Regions from separate parts of the Homo sapiens genome. Here all the other regions are linked to region 2. The links are contacts of gene promoters, found by promoter capture Hi-C in blood cells and fetal thymus (Javierre and others, 2016). All regions are on one chromosome and are shown on one strand. The core of a region is centred on a gene start or on the middle of the fragment in contact, and the rest is flanking DNA. Distances in the headings are between cores, read along the strand shown.

The links. The method cuts DNA at HindIII sites, captures the fragments that hold promoters and counts their contacts. A CHiCAGO score of 5 or more calls a contact.
Region 1: a contact is called between a fragment that was not itself captured here and the fragment with the promoter of CALML3 in region 2, in 3 of 17 cell types (M1 macrophages, total CD4 T cells and M0 macrophages). The highest score is 7.1, in M1 macrophages.
Region 3: a fragment that was not itself captured here is called in contact with the fragment with the promoter of CALML3 in region 2 in 1 of 17 cell types (M1 macrophages); the score reaches 5.9 in M1 macrophages.
Region 4: a contact is called between a fragment that was not itself captured here and the fragment with the promoter of CALML3 in region 2, in 1 of 17 cell types (M1 macrophages). The highest score is 5.5, in M1 macrophages.
Region 5: a contact is called between a fragment that was not itself captured here and the fragment with the promoter of CALML3 in region 2, in 1 of 17 cell types (erythroblasts). The highest score is 5.2, in erythroblasts.
Region 6: a contact is called between a fragment that was not itself captured here and the fragment with the promoter of CALML3 in region 2, in 2 of 17 cell types (M1 macrophages and M0 macrophages). The highest score is 8.0, in M1 macrophages.

What each region holds. Positions count from the first base shown.
Region 1 is chr10:4,852,378-4,855,340 of GRCh38, forward strand. It overlaps a transcript of AKR1E2 not described here. Among named protein-coding and RNA genes, the nearest start is that of AKR1E2, 28 kb to the left of the region's middle. The HindIII fragment of the contact is 5,440 bases long and covers 1-2,963 here.
Region 2 is chr10:5,523,285-5,526,253 of GRCh38, forward strand. CALML3 (calmodulin like 3) reads left to right here and starts at 1,677. Exons shown (of 1, transcript NM_005185.4): 1 at 1,677-2,969. The coding sequence starts at 1,802. The coding sequence ends at 2,251. CALML3-AS1 (CALML3 antisense RNA 1) reads right to left here and starts at 2,962. Exons shown (of 3, transcript NR_120497.1): 1 at 2,849-2,962. RefSeq lists enhancers at 1,982-2,681, 2,682-2,969. The HindIII fragment of the contact is 11,209 bases long and covers 1-2,969 here.
Region 3 is chr10:4,914,910-4,918,035 of GRCh38, forward strand. It overlaps the pseudogene AKR1C6P. Among named protein-coding and RNA genes, the nearest start is that of AKR1C1, 47 kb to the right of the region's middle. The HindIII fragment of the contact is 655 bases long and covers 1,191-1,845 here.
Region 4 is chr10:4,896,480-4,899,517 of GRCh38, forward strand. It overlaps the pseudogene AKR1C6P. Among named protein-coding and RNA genes, the nearest start is that of AKR1C1, 65 kb to the right of the region's middle. The HindIII fragment of the contact is 9,579 bases long and covers 1-3,038 here.
Region 5 is chr10:4,801,390-4,804,335 of GRCh38, forward strand. No RefSeq gene overlaps it. Among named protein-coding and RNA genes, the nearest start is that of AKR1E2, 23 kb to the right of the region's middle. The HindIII fragment of the contact is 3,618 bases long and covers 1-2,946 here.
Region 6 is chr10:4,829,002-4,831,824 of GRCh38, forward strand. AKR1E2 (aldo-keto reductase family 1 member E2) reads left to right here. Exons shown (of 10, transcript NM_001040177.3): 2 at 1,674-1,841. Among named protein-coding and RNA genes, the nearest start is that of AKR1E2, 4.2 kb to the left of the region's middle. The HindIII fragment of the contact is 1,677 bases long and covers 636-2,312 here.

The sequences.
Region 1 (2,963 bases), core at 95-2,594, 670 kb before region 2:
TCATTAGTGAAGAAGATTCTGCAGGCACAAAGGGCCCTGAACAAATGCTGGGCAACAACAGAAACTGTGGTGCGATTAATTCTTGTAAAATAATAAGACAGAAATAGCTCCATCAATGGAAGGAGAATACCGTTAGCTAGAGACTACCCAAAGGAAGAGAATCTCTGAAATTAAGTTAGATTAAGTGGGATTGAGTTGTGACAGCTGCAGGGACAGACCTTCACCACTGTGCCACCCCACCTGGTGTCTAATGAATTTACGCTGAAGCAGGTTAGGACAGTTTGCAAGCAGAAAATACAACAGAGATGGATTGGCAAGGTCTGCTGGAATTGCTGCTGCTTTTTTATTTTCATTTTATTTTGTTGTTTTTGTTCTAAAAATATTTTATTCTTTTTTTTGGCTTACACGGCAGAAATCCATTTTCTCACAGTTTTAGAGGCTAGAAGTCTAGGGTCAAGGTGTTAACAGATTTGGTTTCTTCTGAGGCCTCTCTCCAGGACTTTTCCTTCTGTGTCCTCACATGGTCTTCCTTCTGTGTGTGTCTGTGACCTTGAGGGATATTTTAAAGCTGAAGAGATAAAAGAGGTTGTGGGGCTATGTCTTAAGACAAAAGAACATTTAGGAAACCTCAGGAAATGATCAGAGTGGGATAGATGTTACTAGAAGAAACAAAGAAATTGAATTCAATTAGGAGTTAGAATCATTTACAAAGCAATGGGGAAAGTAAGCCCCTAAAAACTATTGTAGCATATAGTAACCAGAGCCAAACTCTCATAATATATTCCCCAAGGCAAAAGAAAAATATTTACAAGATTGGCGTTGTTTTATATGTTTGCAAACTTATTTAATAAGTCTGGCTTTGTAGATTTCATATCTGAGTCTGCATTCAATCAAAATGTCTTGGCTAAACTTCATGAAAAAACCCCAGCCTCATAAATTAGTAGTTGGAAAAAGGAGGCATATTTAGAGCTTTTTCAGATAATTGTATTTCTTTGATACATTAGACTGGACACACAGTAGTTTGTTTAAGGTTAATTGCAATATTGCAATGAGGAACTTGTTGCCAAAAAAAAAAAAAAAACCAAACTCTGTAAAATATCTGAAGAGATTGATTCTAAGCCAAATATGAGAACCATGACCCATGACACAGCCTCAGGAGATCCTGAGGACATGTGCCCATTGTGGTCTGGTTACAGCTTAGTTTTATATGTTTTAGGGAGACATAAGACACCAATCCGTATAAGTGAGATAGACTTTGGTTTGGTCTGGAAACATGGAACAACTGAAAGTGGGGACAACTGTCAGAGGCATTTAAATCAGAGCAACTCCACCTTGAATAGGGGCTGAGTAAAATGAGACTGAGACCTATTGGGCTGCATTCCCAGATGGTTAAGGCATTCTAAGTCACAGGATGAGATAGGAGGTCACACAAAATACAGGTCATAAAGACCTTGCTGATAAAACAGGTTGCAATAAATCCCCCAAAACCAAGATGGCGATGAGAGTGACCTCTGGTCGTCCTCAATGCTACACTCCCACCAGCGCCATGGCAATGTCAGGGAGCTACCCTATAGGGTCTAAAAAGGGGAGGCAGAAATAATGTACTCCTTGTTTAGCATATCATCAAGAAATAACCATAAAACTGGGCAGCCAGCAGCCCTTGGGGCTGTTTTGTCTATGGAGTAGCCATTCTTTTACTCCTTTACTGTTTTTTTTTTTTTTTTTTTTTTTTTTTAGACAGAGTCATGCTCTGCTGCCAAGGCTGGAGTATAGTGGCACTATCTCAACTCACTGCAAACTCCACCTCCCGGGTTCAAGTGATTCTTCTGCCTCAGCCTCCCGAGTATCTGGGACTACAGGTGCATGCCACCACATCCAGCTAATTTTTGTATTTCTAGTAGAGATGGGGTTTCACCATATTGACCAGGCTGGTCTTTAACTCCTGACCTCATGATCTGCCCACCTTGGCCTCCCAAAGTGCTGGGATTATAGGCATGAGCCACCGCACCTGGCCTACTCCTTTACTTTCTTAATAAACTTGCTTTCACTTTACTCTGTGGACTTGCCCTGAATTCACTCGTGCGAGATCTAAGAACCCTCTCTTGGGGTCTTCTTCCAGACCCTTTGCTGTAACATCTTTCTTGTGACCACTGAAGGGACTATAGTGAGGAACCCCCCGCCCCGACCCAGAGGCTAACTTTGGGTAAGTGGTGGGTGGGGTCCAGTAACATTTTTCTCATGAACCACAAAAGGGCTGATACTGAGGAGACCTCCCACCCAAAGGAAATAGACTACAGCAGTGATCAGCGGACTTTGGGTAAGTGGGGTGTGTATACCCAGGTAAAGAATGGGATTTGGTAGCAGGCCTAACTTAGGGGAGTTAGGGTCTCTCCTAAGACAGAGTAGGTTAGAGGCCCCTCTTCATAAAAGGCAAGGACACTTGACTGACCTTGGGTTAGAGGCCCAACTAAGGAGGGTTAGAGGCCCCTCTGGGTAAAGTCTCTTTCGGCTAAGAATGGGTTTGGCACTATGGGATGTTAACTGCTATTGTCTTTGGAATAATCTGCCTTGCCCTCTTTGCTGATGGCTATGGGTGACAGGATTAGACATGTACAGGATCATGGGACATGGGGAGCTTTTTCCTCCCTAAGAAGGGAAACTTGAGAGCTGATGGGACTGCTGGAAAAGATCGCTTCATGACCACAAGTTGCCACCTGAACTTTTCAGTGTAGCTGCCTTTGGGTGGGTCTTTCTCTGTCCTCCCTGAGCACCTTGCCTTTCCCACCCTGCCTCAGGCAGTGCTTCACCATCCCTGCAAATGGGTTGAATGAATGGTAAAAATAACTGTTTATCTTCTCTTCTTTGTAAAGTGTTGATTAATGGAAAAAAGGATTTGTGAGGCTAGTCATAAGTTGGGGCAAATCTGATGTGCTTTGTGTGTCTTTCTGTATTGTTCTGTCATA
Region 2 (2,969 bases), core at 427-2,926:
TTCTGGGGTGAGAAAGGAGGGGAGGGTGGGATCTGGTCACCAAAGTGTCACCCACACACGTGGCTTCCAAGATGCCCATCACCTCGTTCCCTCCACGCCACCCCTGGGCCCCAGGGCTCTTTGCCAAGGCTGCCTGTGGCCACCACATCCCTGAGCCCTGCTGCTCTGGGGTCCACAAACTTCTCTTCTAAGGAAAAGATTCCATGGGGATGGAGGGATTCTTCAACCTTCCTGCTTCCTCCTGCCCAAACCCTCAGGACACAGGCTTTGTGGGAGCCCTCAGGTAGGAAGGAAGGTGTCTTGCAGGTGGCTTCAATTTTCCCCCTACCACAGACCCCCTCCAGACCAGAAGGACACACTTGCCTCTACTTGAATAGAGAAGGGAAGGAAAATCAGAGAGAAAAAAAATGAATATCCGAGCCCTTCTCCTGCCATAGTCTCTCCTCGGCAAGTCCAGGTCCTCAAAAGGACACTTTCTTTCCCTTTCCGGTCTCTACCCCACCCCCACACACCCAGCAAAAAATAGAGTGGGCTCCATGTTTCTCCCCCAGTGTGGATTTCTTGGATTCCCACAGGTGAAGCGCCTGCTCCTGCCTCTCTGGGGGTCATGTCTCCAGGCCCCCTGGGAGTGGGAGCCGAGTCTGTGCTGTGAACACCCCACTATCCCCCTAAGCGGGTCTCCTCTGGGAGAGGCCGCTCCACAGCCCCAGCTCCATGCTGCCCGGAGCTCCTGGGGCAATGTGGACCAGAGAATGATAGTGGGACTTCCTGGCTGAGCCCTTCAAGGTCTCCTTTGTCTCTCCTCCTTGTCCCCTCCCTCACAGGCCTGCAGCCCCACTGATCATCTTCCAGCCCTTGGCCCTGCCATGGCCACTCCGGCCTAGACAGCTGCTTCTCAGCAGGAGGTCTGTCCTTGACCAGGCTGAAAGGTGACCTCGGGGTCCTGTCCATCACCACCTTGTATGTCCATCAGCATTTATCAATAATCCCTAGTCACCTTGTTTGCATTCCTCGATCAGTTGACCTGCAAACTAGCTGTCTTGCTAGTTAACCTCACGAGGACTGGGGGTGGCTTGCCGGTCCCACTGTGTTCCCAGCTTCCAGAGTGACACTGCACCTAGTAGGCACTCAAATATCTGTGAAAGGGTGGATGAGTGAATGGGTTGGAGGAAACCCCTCCCTATTCATGTCCATTCTGAAGATAAGAAAACTCGCTGCTTCTACCTGAAGGGAAAACCTTCCTCCTCCAAAAACCCTCCTGTTCTATATGAGGCTTTAGAAACCAAAGGCAAGGACGTTTCTTTCATCTGCCTTTCATCCTGCAAAAAGCCCTCCACTCAAGGGAAGAAAGGGCACTGGAGTTTATTGAGTGGGAGACAGGCGGCAGGTGGGAGACGGGGAGGGAGGAGAGAAAGGGAAATTCAGGAGGAAGGAGTCCAGCGTGGATTGCTCCAAAGCTCACCCACCACGCCCTGACTGCAGGTGTGATTCGGGGCCCCCGTGGCTCTGCTGGGTCCAGGTGCAAGCAGGCACAGAGGTGCTGGCGTCAGCTCGATTCGCAGGCCCTGGACTCCTGTCTAAACAGGACAGGCCCGGGCAACCGCAGGGCAGGGGCGTCTGCCAATGATGGGGGAGGACTCTGCTGCTTCTTAAGCTCCAGCGTCTCAAGCCAGGGCGAGACAGCCCGCCGGCCGCCCGGATCTCCACCTGCCACCCCAGAGCTGGGACAGCAGCCGGGCTGCGGCACTGGGAGGGAGACCCCACAGTGGCCTCTTCTGCCACCCACGCCCCCACCCCTGGCATGGCCGACCAGCTGACTGAGGAGCAGGTCACAGAATTCAAGGAGGCCTTCTCCCTGTTTGACAAGGATGGGGACGGCTGCATCACCACCCGCGAGCTGGGCACGGTCATGCGGTCCCTGGGCCAGAACCCCACGGAGGCCGAGCTGCGGGACATGATGAGTGAGATCGACCGGGACGGCAACGGCACCGTGGACTTCCCCGAGTTCCTGGGCATGATGGCCAGGAAGATGAAGGACACGGACAACGAGGAGGAGATCCGCGAGGCCTTCCGCGTGTTCGACAAGGACGGCAACGGCTTCGTCAGCGCCGCCGAGCTGCGACACGTCATGACCCGGCTGGGGGAGAAGCTGAGTGACGAGGAGGTGGACGAGATGATCCGGGCCGCGGACACGGACGGAGACGGACAGGTGAACTACGAGGAGTTTGTCCGTGTGCTGGTGTCCAAGTGAGGCCGGCGCCCACCATGCTCCTGGGCGCCCACGCGGCCCACAGGGCAAGAACCCGGGGCCTCCCGCCTCCTCCCCCATCCCCCTGCCTCCCCTGGGCACTGTGGCTTCCTCCTGCGCCTGGTTGATTCAGCCCACCTCTCTGCATCCCGCTTCCCGCGTCTCTTCTCTGCACTCCTGCCGACCTTCCCACCTGCTCGTCTGAATGACACGGAACGCTCCCACTGCAGGCAAACCGTGACGCCCTCCCCACTCGGGAGAAGCAGAGCTGACCTTAGGACCGAGCACCAGGGCAGGTTGCGCTGACTCTGCGGCCCTCCAGGACGGACACCGGGTGACCCCTTAGGGCACCCAGGCAAGATCCCTAAGAGGCACCCAATGCCCAGGCCAGGGGGGCTGCAGCCCTCAGCCCCCGCCAGGATTCCCGCAGGCTCCTGGACTGGAAGCTCCCTCCGCGGTCGGATTCTGGAGGGTGGGAGGCATCTTGGCCTGCAGTAAGCGGTGCTGACGGGGACTCTGGCCACAGAGGTCAGGCCTCCTGAAAACAGCACTGCCTTCCGCGCTGCCCCAGCTTGCCCCATTCCTTGTCCGCCAACCCACCGTGATTCATCTTCTGAAGCTGGGAGTGAAACTGGGTCAGCTGTAACCTGTTCCTATTCATCTGGAAGGAGGGAGGCTTGGATGAGCAGGGGATGAGAGCTGCAGGGAAATAAATGAGATA
Region 3 (3,126 bases), core at 268-2,767, 610 kb before region 2:
GAGAAATATATATATATTACACCAGAATAATTATACACCAGAATAATTACACCAGAAATAAATATATATATTTGAGAAAAAATATATATTAATATATATTATATAATATATATTATATAATATATAAATATATAATTATATATAACTATATAATATATTAATATATTAAATATATAATATATAAATATGTAAAGTATATAATATCTAAATATATATATTATAAATTCACACAGGGACAGAAAACCAAATACCACATGTCTGCACTTATAAGTGGGAGCCATTTATAGATATAAAATATATACATATTTTATATATAAAATATGTTATATATATTTCATATATATTTTATATATATAAATTTATTATATATAATTATATTTATATATTAATATTATATAATTAAATATGTATAATTATATGTATACTTATAATTATATACTATATAATTATATGTATACATATAATTATATATAAAAATATATATATATATTTTTTAAGATGGAAGTTCGCCCTTTTTTCCCAGGAGTGCAATGGTGTGATCTTGGCTCACTGCAACCTCCACCTTTCAGGTTCAAGCAATTCTCCTGCCTCAGCCTCCCAAGTAGCTGGGATTACAGGCGTGCCCTGCCACCATGCCTGGCTAATTTTTTGTATTTTTAGTAGAGATAGGGTTTCTCCATGTTGGTCAGGCTGGTCTCGATCTCCTGGCCTCAGGTGATCTGCCTTCCTCAGCCTCCCAATGTGCTGGGATTACAGGCGTGAGCCACTGCACCCAGCCTACATATATATATATATATATGTTTTTTTTTTAAAGAAATAGTTCTGTATTATATGAGCATGGGGAAAATATGGAAGTACATATTAAGCTGTTAATAAATTAGTGTGAGGAGCTGCTGAAAAGAGTGACATGGAAAGGAAAGGGCATAAGGAGATCTGAAGAGAAAGAAAAAAGTTCAGCTACACAGCATGTATATATCCATGCGACTGAGGACAAATAATTGAAAGAAAAAGTAAAAAGCAGAACATGGTTGCATTTATGCATTTATTTAAAATTACATAATTATAATTTATATCCTTTATATAGAAATAATTAAACAAGTTTAGCAAGTAATTTCAAATTACAAAGAAAGCCCTAAGAAAGCACTCAATATAATCACTTAAAAGACCAAAAAGTATGCATGATAATTTAAAGCTTAGTAACTGGGAATGGTCCCATATTGAGACAGGAATATTTCCTGACATCCAGAGAATTGTTTCCTATAAATAAAGATTTTGGTGCTTACCTCTAAGTGATGTCTAGGACATGTCCAATCATGAATAGAAAAACACTGAACTTCACAGCGGGTGTAAAGGGAGAAACCATTGCCCTTTAGACATTGGAAAAGTTCTTATGTTCTTGCTTGCCTTGTGATCTTTTATTGTGAAACTTGCAAAATAAATTGATCTTGGCTGTTACCTGCTCTTTTATATTTAACCCTCCCTCCTATGCTACAGTTAAAGTCACAGACCAAATTATTTATCATAATCAAAGCAGAAGTGGGTCAAGCACAGATTTAATAACTATTTAATAGAATTTAATATTGATTTAATAGATATTAAATTTAAATTTAATATCGATTTAATAGAATATTTAATAGAAAAATAATAACAATAACATATCCCTAAGGACCCTCAGGCAAACAGTAGCCCTTCCTGAAATGTGAGAACCTGGCCGGCCATGTGCTTGTCTTTCAGAAAAGTGTCTGAATCTGATATGAAAATTCAGAAGTTATTCATACAATATATTCTCATTGGAAAACTTGAACCATTTGGCCCAACAATCCCATTACTGGCTGTACACCCAGAAGCTTATACATCATTGTGTTATAAAGACGTGTGCCTGTGTATGTTTATTGCGGCACATTCACAATAGCAAAGCCGTAGAATCCACCTGAATGCCCGTGCATGACAGACTGGAGAAAGAAAATCTGGTCCGTATACAACACGAAATGCTGTGCAGCCGTAAAAAAGAACAAGATCGTGTCCACTGCAGGGACATGGATGGAACTGGAGGCCGTTATCTTTAGAAAATTAACACAGGGACAGAAAACCAAGTACCACATGTCCGCACTTATAAGTGGGAGCTAAATGATGAGAACACATGGACCCAGAGAGGGGAACAACACACACTGGGGCCTTTCGGAGGGCGGAGGATAGGAGGAGGGAATCAGGAAAAATAACTGATGGGTACTAGGCTTAATACCTGCGCGATGAAATAATCTGTACAACAAACCTCCATGACACAAGTTTACCTGTGTAGCAAAACTGCACTTGTACCCCTGAACTTAAAATAAAAGTTAAAAAAAGAATTATCTTAATATAGATACAATAAGTTGTCATTTCTAGAATTAAAAACATGTATCTTAGTATGAATCAAGTGCGTAAATGGTAGGAAAATGTTATTTTATTGGCTAATTTTTCATCCCTGACCTCTAAGAGGAGCGAGTCCTCTGAAGAGTGTTGACTCTCTTTTTCTCTCTCTTCCCTCCCTCCATAAATATGGCAATGGGTGTGGAAGGCTGGGATGAAGCATTGTCGGACTCCTCAGGCCTTGCGAGGCTCTCTTTAGGGAAATAGGTAGAGGACTTAGACTCCGGCGTTACTGGAGTCGGTGAACCACAGTTACTCAGTGATTGCCCATCAAGATTGTTCCATCAGTCTTGGATTCTATTAGGTAATATTTTTATTTAGAATTATGCATTTAGGTTCATCAGTGTAATTGAGCTATAGTTATAGTTTTCCTTTTTTATTTTTCAGGTTTATCATCAGTTATGCTAGCCTCATAAAATAAATTGAGAGTTTTCTGTATTTTTCCCACAGACTGAAGTACCTTACATAAATTTGAAACTCTTTTTTCTCAAAATGTTTAGTCTTAGGAACACTTTACACTCTTAAAAATCATTGAGGACCTCCAAAGCTTGAGTTTATATGTCCTACATCCATTGATATGCACCAAATTAGAAATTTAAACTAAAAAAATTTAAAATATTTATGCATCAATTTATTTAAAAATAAACCTATCACATATTAGCATAAATAATATATTTTATAACAAAATACAATATTTCACCAGACAAAAATCATTCA
Region 4 (3,038 bases), core at 297-2,796, 630 kb before region 2:
ACTTCCAACACTATGTTGAATAGGAGTGGTGAGAGAGGGCATCCCTGTCTTGTGCCAGTTTTCAAAGGGAATGCTTCCAGTTTTTTGCCCATTCAGTATGATAATGGCTGTGGGTTTGTCATAGATAGCTCTTATTATTTTGAGATACATCCCATCAATACCTAATTTATGGAGAGTTTTTAGCATGAAGCATTGTTGAATTTTGTCAGAGGTCTTTTCTGTATCTATTGAGATAATCATGTGGTTTTTGTCATTGGTTCTGTTTATATGCTGGATTATGTTTGTTGATTTGCACATGTTGAACCAACCTTGCATCCCAGGGATGAAGCCCACTTGATCATGGTGAATAAGTTTTTTGATGTGCTGCTGGATTCATATTTTATTGAGGATTTTTGCATTGATGTTCATCAGGGATATTGGCATCATGCTACCTGACTTCAAACTATACTACAAGGCTACAGTAACCAAAACAGCATGGTACTGGTACCAAAACAGCGATATAGACCAATGGAACAGAACAGAGCCCTCAGAAATAATGCTGCATATCTACAACTATCTGATCTTTGACAAACCTGACAAAAACAAGAAATGGAGAAAGGATTCCCTATTTAATAAATGGTGCTGGGAAAACTGGCTAGCCATATGTAGAAAGCTGAAACTGGATCCCTTCCTTACACCTTATACAAAAATTAATTCAAGATGGATTAAAGACTTAAATATTAGACCTGAAACCATAAAAACCCTAGAAGAAAACCTAGGCAATACCATTCAGGACATAGGCATGGGCAAGGACTTCATGTCTAAAACACCAAAAACAATGGCAACAAAAGCCAAAATTGACAAATGGGATCTAATTAAACTAAAGAGCTTCTGCACAGCAAAAAAAAAACTACTATCAGATTGAACAGGCAACCTACAGAATGGGAGAAAATTTTTGCAATCTGCTCATCTGACAAAGGGTTAATATCCAGAATCTACAATGAACTCCAACAAATTTACAAGAAAAAAACGAACAACTCCATCAAAAAGTGGGCGAAGGATATGAACAGACACTTCTCAAAAGAAGACATTTATGCAGCCAAAAGACACATGAAAAAATGCTCATCATCACTGGCCATCAGAGAAATGCAAATCAAAACCACAATGAGATACCATCTCACACCAGTTAAAATGGCGATCATTAAAAAGTCAGGAAAAAACAGGTGCTGGAGAGGATGTGGAGAAATAGGAACACTTTTACACTGTTGGTGGGACTGTAAACTAGTTCAACCATTGTGGAAGACAGTGTGGCGATTCCTCAGGGATCTTGAACTAGAAATACCATTTGACCCAGCAATCCCATTACTGGGTAAATACCCAAAGGATTATAAAACATGCTGCTGTAAAGACACATGCGCACGTATGTTTATTGCGGCACTATTCAGAATAGCAAAGACTTGGAACCAACCCAAATGTCCAACAATGATAGACTGGATTAAGAAAATGTGGCACGTATACACCATGGAATACTATGCAGCCATAAAAAATGATGAGTTCATGTCCTTAGTAGGGACATGGGTGAAGCTGGAAACCATCATTCTCAGCAAACTATCACAAGGACAAAAAACCAAACACCGCATGTTCTCACTCATAGGTGGGAATTGAACAATGAGAACACATGGACACAGGAAAGGGAACATCACACACCGGGGCCTGTTGTGGGGTGGGGGAAGAGGGGAGGGATAGCATTAGGAGATATACCTAATGTTAAATGACGAGTAAATGGGTGCAGCACACCAACATGACACATGTATACATATGTAACTAACCTGCAGGTTGTGCACATGTACCCTAAAACTTAAAATATAATAAAAAAAAACTAAGAAAAATAAACAAACTTTATAAGATAAAGCTGGAAATAATGACAGATTAAAAAAAATCTATTCAAATCTTTTGACCATTTTTTAAATTGGATTATTACATTTTTTTCCTATAGAGTTGTTTGAGCTCCCGATGTATTTTGGTTATTAATACCTTGTCAGATGAAGAGTTTGCAAATATTGTCTCCCATTCTGTGGGGGTTTTCGCTTCACTTTGTTAATTGTTTCCTTTTCTGTGCAGAGCTTTGTAACTTATGATTCCGTTTGTCCGTTTTTGCTTTGGTTGCCTATGCTTATAGGGTATTAGTCAAGAAATTTTTGCCCAGACCAATGTCCTGAAGATTTCTCCAATGTTTTCTTGTAGTAGTTTCGTAGTTTGAGATCTTAGATTTAAACTTTTAACCCATTTTGATTTGATTTTTTTGCATATGGCAAGAGATAGGGGTCTAGTTTCATTCTTCTGCATATAGATATCCAGTTTTCCCAGCACTATTTATCGAAGAGATTGTCTTTTCCCTAGTGTATGTTCTTGGCACCTTGTTAAAAATGAGTGCACTGTAGGTGTGTAGATTTGTTTCTGGGTTCTCTGTTCTGTTCCATTGATATATGTGTCTGTTTTTATGACAATACCCTGCTGTTTTGATTACTATAGCTCTGTAGTAAAATTTGAGGTCAGGTACAAGGCTACAGTAACCAAAACAGCATGGTACTGGTACCAAAACAGATATATAGACCAATGGAACAGAACAGAGGCCTCAGAAATAACACCACACATCTACAATCATCTGATCTTTGAGAAACCTGACAAAAACAAGAAGTGGGGAAAGGATTCCCTATTTAATAAATGGTGCTGGGAAACCTGGCTATCCATATGTAGAAAGCTGAAACTGGATCCTTTCCTTATACCTTATACAAAAATTAATTCAAGATGGATTAAAGACTTAAATGTTAGACCTAAAAGCATAAAAACCCTAGAAGAAAACCTAGGCAATACCATTCAGGACATAGGCATGGGCGAGGACTTCATGACCAAAACAACACAAGCAATGGCAACAAAAGCCAAACTAGACAAATGGGATCTAATTAAACTAAAGAGCTTCTGCACAGCAAAAGAAACTACCATCAGAGTGAACAGGCAACCTACAGAATGGGAGAAAATTTTTGCAATCTACCCATCTG
Region 5 (2,946 bases), core at 152-2,651, 720 kb before region 2:
ATCAGATCATGAAGCGGGGGTGTTGGGCACCCTTGCATTGAAAGCTCTGTTCTGATTTCACAACTCCTGGATCCACTCTCCAAGCCCAAACCCCTTCCTGAGAAACATTCTAGGTATAACTGATGAACCTGAGATGTCATGAGAGCAGGGCAAGGCCAACAGGATGCTCTCTTCCTGGAATGTGGATTTGGATTTCAAACTCTAACGAGTGTCTGTAAGCCGCTTAACTGGTGTCCTGCAGGCAGGGCTGAGGAGAGTTTGGGTTGTTTTGACTCATGCACACCCAAAATCAGAACATGTTTGTTTGCAAGGAGAGAAAAGAACAAAGCAGAAGAGAGACACAGAGATGAGAGGTTTGTCACCTTGGGTCACAGCGAGCCTGTGGCATGGTTCCCTGGGAGGCCCTGCTGCCCCTCTGCCTTCCCTTAGGTGCCTCAGATCTGTACCACAGCCCTTGGTGCTGCATTCTGCCAGCTCAGAGGGGTTTTGTTAATTGCAACCAAAAAGACTTGCTTAAGTATTTTAATTTCCACTTCCTAGTGGTTTTAATTAATAGTTGTTAGATGAATTAATGTAAAAACAAATGAATAAAGTAACCGCTTTAGATGAATTTTAAAAATTTTATTAAAAACATGAATATTATTTCTTCAACTAATTATCTACATCAGTGTTTTTTATGATTTCTCTCCAATTCCACTCTTTCCCCCACCAAAAAAGAGACAGTTGTCTTTCAGACACTCTTAGGATTACCTCATCCAAAATATTTGTTTTAAATGAAAAGACTTGATTTGTGAGGGGGATGTGTATATATGTGTGTGTGTGTGTGTGTGTGTGTGTGTGTATGTAGCAGAAAAAGAGGGGAGGATAAGGTCCTTTTCTATGCAACTCTCTGAGCAAAAACAATGCAGTCCTTTAAAAAATTGTTATCTTCTAATGTTAAAATAGCTAATTCTTATTTAAAGATTTAGTTGTAAGTCTTAAAGAAAATGTTAGTCTTTTAAAGATACAAGAAGTGTTAAGGGCTTCTCCACTTTTATTGGGCTGTTGGATTGGGTATTAAAATTGAGAAATATGCCTTATAAAGTTGTTTTTAATTGTAAATAAGTTCATGCATTGTTAAATTCAATTCTTGAAATATTCTGTTTCTAAGCAAATACACAACAGTACATAGCCAGTTTGCTATAGTTTCATGTTTTAAATTTTGTGTACATTTCATGTCACATGTTTCTTAATTTTTAGATGTTTACATATCTGAGCCTATGTTATCCTTGTACAAGTTTGATGGGAAAGCAACCAACACACTGATCTTTTATTCTTATTCAATTTTTCTTTCATAGGTAATTTCTGCACTAGTTTTATTTTACCTGAATTTGATCAGATGTTTTAAATGATCCAAATTCCTAGCACTAGAAAAAATCCAGGCTTTTGTAGTTTATGTTGTTGTTGAACGAGAAGAAGACCAGACAAGTAGACACACGTTCACTAATCATAGGGGTGACTTCCTTTCCAGTGTTCAGCAAGGGATGGGGTATAAGGCAATGCCAAACTTCAACCTGCCCATCAGGTGAAAGAGTGAAGAATGTTTAATGTAGAGTTGTTCTTGAAACTAGGCCAGATGATGTCACATACTGGCTTAATTTTTTCTATTGGATGCTTAATTATTTGAGGATTCTGCAGGAAAAGTCCGGGTTGAGTTGGCTTGTTCAATACTAAAATATTTTTCTCCTGCTAAAGCACACACATTCGCTCACAGCAGTGTATATGGAACTTATAGATGTTTATTTTTACCTCTTTTTTTCTTTTCCCTTCCTTTCTTACTCTCACTACCTAAGTTCAAGGTCTGTGGACTGTGTACTTGTGGAGGAGGAGCACCAGGAAGGGGAAGGGAGGGATTCCTGCTGGCAGGAACCATGGAGAGCACATCCCTACCTAACCCTGCAGAAAAGTAGCCACAGCTCAAGGAGGTCTCTCATGTAGATCTATAGAGTAGCCCGTGCAAAATAGCATCTTTCATCACAGAGTGACTGACTTTTAACAAAGCAATAAAGCTAAGCCTCTTTGGCCCATCTACCAGAATGAGGACACTGCGTTGTTAAGAAATCACTCAATTAAAATAATATTTGTCGAAATTGTACTTGACCTGTAATCAAGAGCGACATTTGACACCTTAGTGCAGCTTCTCAAATGTTACTTATTATGACTTGGAAGGGTAACAATAAACAAAAACAACACAACAAATAAATACAACAAGAGGCAAATCACACTTCCCTTTGGTTTCAGAATCTACAATGACTGCTTGAACATTTGCCTAGTTTAGGAATATGTCTTTGTCTCAGGATTTTAGGGGTGCAGAAAGGAATGAGAGTATATGGAGCCCACCTTTTCTGAACTAGCTTTCCCAGTAGCCTGGAAACAGAAGGATTTTCTTGCTTGGTAGAGAGTATTGAACCCTGTCCTTCTGTGTGTCCAGGCCAATGTCTGTCGAGAGCTTGACTCTCTGTGCTGGAACTAACCTTGTCCATCTTCCCATAGTTCAGTATTGTCTTCCTCAAAATAAAGGAAATTATCTCCAACTTCTTGAAACATGCAGAATTTTGAAATGGTTTTCTTTATAAAAACGATAATATCAGCATATTTTCTAAACTGCTTGTTAGAGGTATAGAGTTGTGCAGCTTAGATTTGGCTGTTGTGTCAGACCTCTGTGTTCCAGTCCTCCTGTGGAGTGGACCTGTGACATCAGAACACACAGAGGTGGGGACTGGAATATCTCAGAGTTTCCCCAGGGGCTCCAAAGGGCTGGAAGTGTGGGTCCCACCTCCTTCCATGAGGGGCAGAAGAAATGTGTTGAAAACCAGCGATGGACAGGTGATGCATCAGGCTCTCAAGTCTCATTTCTAGATTCCATCATCCACATCAATTTTTCATCTATTACTTTTACTCATTGTA
Region 6 (2,823 bases), core at 224-2,723, 690 kb before region 2:
GTTTACTTTCCTTTTTTTCCACTCTTTAAGCTTAAAATTGCTTCTTCTTAGTTGTTCAGGTGCTTCTGGAAAGCACCTCCAGCACAGTGGCCATTCTTGTTTTGTACCTGATTTTAAAGGATGTAAGATGGATATTTTTTAATATTGATACTCTTTATCAGATTAATTCTTTTCCCCGACTTACTGGGAGTTTAGATTTTGAATCTAAACTGGTATTGAATCTTAACAAATATTGATTGAGTTGACTTTTGTTTTTGTACTTTAATCTGTTAATATTGATGAATTACAGATTTTCTAATATCAAACCATCCTTAGATATCTGAGATACACTCAACATGGGTGTGGTATATTATCTTTTCATAAATATTGTTGCATCCAATTTGCTTTTATTTTACTTATGAATTTTGCAACGGTATTCATGAATAAGATGAATGTGTGACTTTTAATATTTTTGTCTGATTTTGATTCAGGGTTATGCTAGTTTTGTAGAATGAGTTGAGATAAGTCCGTCTTTTTCTGTTGTTTGAAAGTCTGTGTTAAACTGAGATGATTTTTTTCTTGAAAATTTTATGAAACTGGTGGTTTTCTCTTTTTTTTGAATTCCTTGCATTCTTTAATAATTATGTAACTATTCAAGCTTTATTCTTGGGTTAAATTTTTCTAGGAATTTTCCCATTTTATCTCATTTTTCCAAGTTATTGACATATAGTTATTGGTAATATTTTCTTTTAAGTCCATTTTATCTGCATGTTTTACTGTCCATTCGTGTCAGTTTTTTAAAAAGTTGGCCTCTTCATCAACCTAGCCAGAAGTCTGTTTATTTTACTGAAGTTTTTCAAAGAACTGACTTCTGGTTTTGTTGATCTTCTCTGTTACATCTTTGTTTTCTATTTTATTGATGTTATTCTTAATCATATTTTTATCTTTCCATCCAATTTCTTGGGTTCTTTTTCTAACTTAAGATGGATACTTGGTTCATTAGCTTTCAACCACTCTGAATCTGTTGCCTATAAAATGAAGATAATTATGCTGCTCTAACTCCTAGGGTTACCGTGAAGCTCCAGTGAGAAAGTGGTTTGTGAACTATAAAGCCCTTGTCAGTCTTCAGTTTAATGAGACTGCAAACCCGCCCACCCCCATAGTCTTCCCTAGTTCTAGTCCCTTCCCTTGCCTGAGCTTCATTTAGAGTGACTGTTCTCTTTTCTGAACTACCTTATTGCTTGTAGCATTATACATTCATTTAGGTTTTGTTATATACTTCTTTTTGTATGGATACCTTCGTGTGAGTCTACACCTCAGCCTTTATTATTGGACGCTGTGGTATCTGAGTATACAGGATAAATCTTAAGCCTCTTTGCATCTCAGTTATTATTCATTCTGTACTTTTTTATTGCTTTGATCATTCAGGAAGCATACCATCTAGCTCAGTTTTCTGCAGACACTAAAAATAACCTATAGTTTTTTTTTCCCAAAATATGTAAAGGAGTTGGAACTTAGATTATTCATAAATTCCTTCATAACTGATATTGCCTGTTTTTAGACTGATTATACTAGTACCAAATTAGTGACTTAATTTTTTATGTATTATGTTGTCCACATGCTTGGGTGAAAGGGGAGATTTGTGTTGGATTCCTCTGACTGTGAGAAGACACTTTGTTTTGTTGGTTTTGCAGGCTTCTCCAGGGAAAGTGACCGAGGCAGTGAAAGAGGCCATTGACGCAGGGTACCGGCACTTCGACTGTGCTTACTTTTACCACAATGAGAGGGAGGTTGGAGCAGGGATCCGTTGCAAGATCAAGGAAGGCGCTGTAAGACGGGAGGATCTGTTCATTGCCACTAAGGTAGGGCTTCTCTATGCAAGGCTGGCAGAGCTTGGGTAATGCTACATCTCTGGAGGGCTTTCTACTTTCTTTATGGGAGTTGATGACTTTGTTTCATACTCAAATCGGAATAAACAAGAATATTCACAGCTTCATGAGCATGCTGAATTATATTGTGTGCAGGTTTGTTTCATATTATTTACTTGGTCATTCAGGTAGGAGTACACAGATATCCCCCAATTAACAATACATTATCAAAATTCAGTTAGTGATGGGCACTTTGACTACAGTGGTGAATAGGACAAAGTCCTAGCCCTCATGAAGTCTGTTTACACAGCGATTCCTAAATTCAGAATCACTGGGGTGATTGTTAAATGCAGATTCCAAATTCTACCCCACATCTGTTGAAGGAGAAACTCTGGGTGTGGAGGAAGCAGCTTGAGCACAGGCATAAGGCAGGAAGCAGCACGGCAGGTGCAGGGGTTTGTAGGAAGCTTGGTGTATTAGTCTGTTCTCATGCTGCTGTACGAACATACCTGAGACTGGGTAGTTTATAAAGAAAAAGAGGTTTAATTGACTCACAGTTTCACATAGCTGGGGAGGCCTCACAATCATGGCAAAAGGCGAAGGAGGAACAAAGGCACGTCTTACATGGTAGCAGACAAGAGAAAGTGTACAGGGGAACTGCCGTTTATAAAACCATCAGTTGTCACGAGACTTATTCACTATCACCAGAACAGCATAGGAAAAACTTGCCCCCATGATTCAGTTACCTCCCACTGGGTCCCTCCCATGACACGTAGGGATTATGGGAGCTACAATTCAAGATGAGATTTGGCTGTGGACACAACCAAACCAAATCACTTGGTCTCTCTGGACCACACAATGTCAGGTTGCAGGAGTAATGAGAAGTGAGGCTGAGTGGTGGATAGGCTAAGCCATGGAAGTTCAGCTGTGCCCTGTCAGGAGCTGTGCTTTTACCTAGAGACAGAGGAGCCCTGTT